Linked DNA regions of Homo sapiens: region 1 is linked to region 2. The links are contacts of gene promoters, found by promoter capture Hi-C in blood cells and fetal thymus (Javierre and others, 2016). All regions are on one chromosome and are shown on one strand. The core of a region is centred on a gene start or on the middle of the fragment in contact, and the rest is flanking DNA. Distances in the headings are between cores, read along the strand shown.

What was found. The method cuts DNA at HindIII sites, captures the fragments that hold promoters and counts their contacts. A CHiCAGO score of 5 or more calls a contact.
Region 1: a contact is called between the fragment with the promoter of SLC39A2 here and a fragment that was not itself captured in region 2, in 1 of 17 cell types (M0 macrophages). The highest score is 5.1, in M0 macrophages.

Annotation. Positions count from the first base shown.
Region 1 is chr14:20,998,004-21,001,104 of GRCh38, reverse strand. SLC39A2 (solute carrier family 39 member 2) reads right to left here and starts at 1,812. Exons shown (of 4, transcript NM_014579.4): 1 at 1,544-1,812; 2 at 1,233-1,363; 3 at 939-989; 4 at 1-158. The coding sequence starts at 1,658. It overlaps LOC101929718 (a long non-coding RNA gene), which reads left to right and starts at 1,942. Exons shown (of 4, transcript NR_110139.1): 1 at 1,942-2,331. RefSeq lists an enhancer at 554-1,753. The HindIII fragment of the contact is 5,548 bases long and covers 1-3,028 here.
Region 2 is chr14:20,429,551-20,432,417 of GRCh38, reverse strand. KLHL33 (kelch like family member 33) reads left to right here. Exons shown (of 5, transcript NM_001365790.2): 3 at 1,699-2,623; 4 at 2,749-2,867. Among named protein-coding and RNA genes, the nearest start is that of KLHL33, 5.2 kb to the left of the region's middle. RefSeq lists an enhancer at 2,792-2,867. The HindIII fragment of the contact is 2,721 bases long and covers 1-2,632 here.

The DNA.
Region 1 (3,101 bases), core at 563-3,062, 570 kb before region 2:
TGGCTGTGGAGTTCGAAGATATGAGCCCCACCCCATTCTTCGTCCTGCACTGTCGATCCTCCAGCAGCCCCAGGACAGCACTGCAATGCCAGCGACTCCAAAAAGAAGACAAAAAAGAAGCCCAGGGAGATGATGAGCTCTCCATAGGGATACTCCATCTAGAAACAAAAAGAAGGGCTGTGAGATGGAAAGGAAGGGTAGGCAATACATTGGATGGACATGGAATTGGGAGATTGAAGAGAATGAGAAAATGTGGTAACAGAACACAAAAAAGGGTAGGGGAAATGAAGCCAAGAGTAGACATGGCCATGCAACAACAAGAATGCCAGAGTGGGCCGGACACAGTGGCTCATGCCTGTAATCCTAGCACTTTGGGAGACTGAAGTGGGCAGATCACTTGAGGTCAGGAGATTGAGACCAGCCTGGCCAACATGATGAAACCCCGTCTCTACTAAAAATACAAAAACTAGCCAGGTGTGGTGGCACGTGCCTGTAATCCCAGCTACTCAGGAGGCTGAGGCAGGAAAATCACTAGAACTCGGAAGGCAGAGGTTGCAGTGAGCCGAGATTGTGCCACTGTACTCCAGTCTGGGCGACAGAGAGATTTCATCTCAACAAACAAACGAAAAACAACAACAACAAAAGACTGCCAGAGGGGCTAAGGGACAGAATCTCAATAGAGTTAAAAACATGGGCAAATGATGTGAGGTATATCAGAGGATCCAGGGAAAGAATGAAAGAGTAAAACAAGGGCTTTCCCTGGCATTCTATAAACTCAAAAGGATTGGATTTGCTCCTCTTTTCCTCTACGATGTCTGAGCTAGGGAGCAGAAGGGATTCTTGGTACTCCTCATGTATTCCTCTCAAAAGGGTCTGGATATGAAAGGCCTCTCTGGTTCTCCTCACTCTCCAGATAGGGGATGGTGGGAGGTACTTACATGAGCTGAATCAGCATCACCAGAAGAATTTCTCTCACTTGCTGATCTGTTCTAAGAAGAAAGCAGCAGAAATTAGATGTGGGATGGAGCAGCACAGCTTCCTGTGCTGTCCCTTCAGCAATTCTGTTTTCCTTAAAGCCTAATCTGACTTGCTTTCACCATCCCACACAAGAGCTGTCATTTTCCTTGTCGTTCCACCCATGTCCTTGGCTCCATCACTTTCCCGCTCTCTTCCCTTTGTCCTGTTTATCATTTTGGCCTCATAGACCTGCGGCTTGAAATCTCTGCTCTCACCTGCACCATGAACTTCTGAATCTGTGATTCAATTTCCTCCAGGGCTTCAGCAGTCATATGCATGAACCCTGCTCCCAGGAAAACACCAGCAGAAATACAGCCCAGGAGTCTGAGGACTAGCCGGTGATGACCTAATAAAAAGCAGAAGTTACAACCCACTTGACACTGAGGAGACAGACAAAGGTGAGTAAAGAGCAGCAGGCAGCACTCAATATCCCAAGGTTGGGGATGGTGAGAGAATCAGAGCAAGGTATCAGGACAGGGTTGAGGTGAGACTCAGGCTATGGAACAAAGATGGGGTAGGGCTATACCTCTGGCTGCATCAATCTGGAACCATTTGAAGCAGATGGGAGTAAGGCCACAGCCCAGAGTGAGAGCCAACAGGGCAAACAGGCAGCCAAGTTTTATTCCTAGTAGTTGCTCCATCTCTGGGGTGTAGGGTAAGCCCAGGAGTCAGAATGACAAGGGAGCTGTAATCTTTGGAGCAGGAGTGGTATCTTAGGTGGTCAACACTGGAGTGTCCACTCTCGTGAGTTTCAGGAGGCTGTTGGTATCTTCTTTCTGTGTTGCTTCTGCTTCTGCAGCATTGCAGAGCTGACAGATCCTGCCCCAGCTTCTAGCCCTCCCCCTGCATGGAGGCCCCTCCCCTGGTTCACGCCTTCCTGAGCTTGGAAACCAGAAACTCCAGACTCCCTGCCAGGCACAGCCCAGTGGCGTCTTCTCCTCCTCTTCAATGGCATGACTAATCCAAGAGCTACGGATAGTCTTAGTTCATGTGCTTGGGGTTGGTCTAATCCAAAATAGGAAAGTCTATGGTAGCTGCTTCCCAGCTATTTTGTACTGGGGACAATCTGGTCCTGTCTCACTCAGGACGTTTGATCTAAGCCTTCCATACCCTCTCCACCTCATCCCAAGTCTTATAGGTTGCAATGCTGATACTTGAACCACCCGCTTTCAGAGATTTGGGGCCACCTGGAGGTAAAGAGGTGGGGCTGAGAGGTGGTGCTGGTGCTACTCTGTGGGAACTAGTACCCACATGAGGGAACTACCCTTTCCTGTAACCCCAGAAAAATAGCTCCAGGCATGGAAATGTCTAGTGGTAAGTTGATTTGTTTTTTTTCTTTCTCTTTTGATTGGGATCAGTTTTGAGAGGAATGAGTTGAGATGTCTGGTATTACAACATTTATACTGTTACAACTTCTAACTGTGCCTGTTTCCTGGTAAGAACTGTGGAAAAAAAGACATTTAAGGTTTAAGACAAAGGAAGCTGCTCTAGCCCTGAAACAGCAAGGCTTAGGGGAAAACAGAAATGAACTGAGTGAATGGGAGGATTCTACCTGGATATAGAGAGGTGGGGGTAGAAGATTCAGTTCTGATGGGAATCACTCTTGATGGAAATGTCTGGGGCATTTCCCATACATACTCTAGGGTAGCTGAGGGACCCTGGGAAAGACAGAAGGGAAGGCGTTAGTACAAGAGGCCAGGCAGCTGCTGATTCCCCTATTCAGGTGGCCCACATAACAACCCTGAGACCTGTTGAGCCAGTTCTCAGAGCTCTGGAGGCAGCTTTCCTTGCTACTCCAGATTATTTTCCTAGGGAAGTCCTGGCCTCTGGTAGAAGCAGTATTCTTACAGTGTTACTGGATGATTCTTACAGTGTTACTGGTCCTGCTGCTTGTTCTTGTGGTCCGGTAATGAGATGCAGACAGACAGACTGGGAAAGACGGGAGTTTATTTCTGCAACTGATTACAGGGAGGTCGGAGTAGCACACCAGACCAACTCAAAGTTACAAGCTTTTCTTTAGCTTTTATATACAATTCAAGCTCTATGACTACCTGCGGGAATGTTTCCTAATTAATCTAAACTAG
Region 2 (2,867 bases), core at 23-2,522:
CCCTGGGCCAGGCATAGTGGCTCACGCCTGTAATCCCAACACTTTGGGAGGCCGAGGCAGGCAGATCACTTGAGGCCAGGAGTTCAAGGTTAGCCTGTCCAACATGGCGAAACCGTCTCTACTAAAAATACAAAAATTAGCCAGGCATGGTAGCGTGCACCTGTAGTCCCAGCTAATCTGGAAGCTGAGGCACGAGAATCACATGAAGCTGGAGGGTGGAGGTTGCAGTGAGCCGAGATTGTACCACTGCACTCCAGGCAGGGTGACAGAGTAAGACCCTATCTCAAAAAAAAAAAAATTGGTTATCCTATAAAATGCTCCATTTTCTTGATTTGTGTGGTTTTTCCCCTCTAAATTGTTCCTTTAGCCTTTCAACTTCCTATAAACTTGACTTTAGATCTAAAGAGTTGAACAGATTCAAGTTAAATATTTTGGCCAGAATAATCCATAAGTGATGCTGAGTATGAGGTCTAATTGTTTAACAGCGTAGGTTAATAGGACAGTTTCATTGTCATGAGGACCATGCAGATAACCAAGGTATTGGTACACAAGCATGCTTATTGCAGCCTGACATCAGTGGCAGTGGATGGAGATGATCTGCCCACACAGCCACTGCATGGAAATGAAAAATAAATCACATGCTTTCTTTGGGACCCAACTCAGTTTCCACATTTTATTTATTTATTTATTTTGAGATGGAGTCTCGCTCTGTCACCCAGGCTGGGTGCAGCGGCGCAGTCTCAGCTCATTGCAACCCTCGCCTCCCAGGTTCAAGCTATTCTCCTGCCTCAGTCTCCAAGTAGCTGGGATTACAGGCGCCTGCCACCATGCCCGGCTAATGTTTGTATTTTTGGTAGAGATGGAGTTTCACCATGTTGGCCAGGCTGGCCTTGAACTCCTGACCTCAAGTGATCCTACCCACCTCAGCCTCCCAAAGTGCTGGGATTACAGGTGTGTGCCACGACACCCAACCAGTTTCCTTATTTTAAAGGGAATAATTGAATTAGATTATTTTGAAGTTCTCAAGTTTCAGATCTCATGATTCTACAAATTACACCAAGAACAGGAGAGGGTTATGCAGAGAAAAGCTGGGACGCACGGAAAACATTAAACACTAAATCTTAGGCAAGAGGAGACAGCAATCCGATGAGGTTGGATTACAGCCATTCCCGAGTGGTGCCACTTTCCCAGCAAAATCTAACAGAATGGCTGACAGTCTTGGCTCTTGATTGTAAAGAATTTTATTTTGTCACGATATAGACAGACCTATATAAGTTGCTTGTTGGTCATTTCCCATTTATTTTGTGCTCCTCTTAGCAAATGCTTTCCTCTCAACCTGATCCATGAAGACTCTTTTTCTGACTCATCTGACCAAAAAGACTAAAGCAATGTTTATCTAAGTGTCTTCAGGCCACTAACATGAGAATCACATAGGGTTACTTGAAGTGTTACAATACAAATTTCTAGGGTCTCCGTCCAGAACTGCTGAATCAGAATCTCTGGGAGTGGACTGCTGAAACCTGCATTTTAACAACTACCCCATGGTATTCTGATGCACACCACAGTTTGGTCTGTAGCAGTGGGTGGCTTGGAGGGCCAAACTTAGAGTTTGGCCAAACTTAGAGTACCAAGTTGGGGTAATGCCTATCGGTCTTGCAATACTTTGAGTCCTCCTCTATTCCTTCTCCCCTCCTGCAGTGCACCGAGCCGCCCTGGCCTGTGGCAGTGAGTTCTTTGGGGCCATGCTCCTGAGCGGGATGAGGGAATCCCAGGGCACAGAGGTATCTCTGCGGACGATCTCCACCCAGGACCTGCGACTCCTCGTCTCTTTTGCTTACTCCGGAGTTGTGCGGGCAAGGTGGCCAGGGCTACTGAGAGCTGCCCAGGCTGCTCTGCAGTACCAGAGCTCTTCCTGCTTGGATTTGTGTCAGAAAGGCTTGGCACGGGGCCTCAGCCCTGCCCGTTGCCTGGCCCTGTTCCCCATGGCGGAAGCCCCTGGGTTGGAGAGGCTCTGGAGCAAAGCCCGTCACTACCTCCTCACCCACCTGCCTGCTGTAGCCTTGTGTCCTGCTTTCCCTTCTTTACCAGCTGCCTGCTTGGCTGAGCTCCTGGATAGTGATGAGCTCCATGTGCAGGAGGAGTTTGAGGCCTTTGTGGCTGCACGGTGTTGGCTGGCTGCCAACCCCGAGACCCAGGAGTCAGAGGCCAAGGCCCTGCTGCGATGTGTCCGCTTTGGCCGCATGTCCACCAGGGAGTTGCGGAGGGTGCGGGCAGCCGGGCTACTTCCACCCCTGACCCCAGATCTGTTGCACCAGCTGATGGTAGAGGCTGATGTTCCAGGCCAAGAGAGACGGAGGGAGCCTGACCGGGCACTGGTAGTGATTGGCGGGGATGGGCTCAGACCAGACATGGCCCTAAGACAACCATCCCGAGCAGTGTGGTGGGCCCGGGCCTTCCGCTGTGGCGTGGGACTGGTACGAACTGTTGAGTGGGGGCAGCTGCCTGCCCTGCCTGCCCCCGGACGCTTCCGGCATGGGGCTGCAAGCCTGGCAGGAAGTGAACTCTATGTGTGTGGGGGACAAGATTTCTACAGTCACTCCAACACCCTGGCTTCAACTCTCAGGTATAAGCTTCTAGGAGTGGGCAGGGTGTGGCAGGCCCTAAGGTGGGCAGGGAGAGAAATTGCTGGCCTAGCCAACCACGGATGCCCAGAGTCCCTCTTCCAATCTCTTGTCCTACTGTGTCCAGGTGGGAGCCCAGTCAAGAGGACTGGGAGGAGATGGCTCCTTTGTCCCAGGCTCGAAGCCTTTTCTCCTTGGTGGCACTGGATGGAAAACTTTATGCCCTGGGTGGAAGACACAATGATG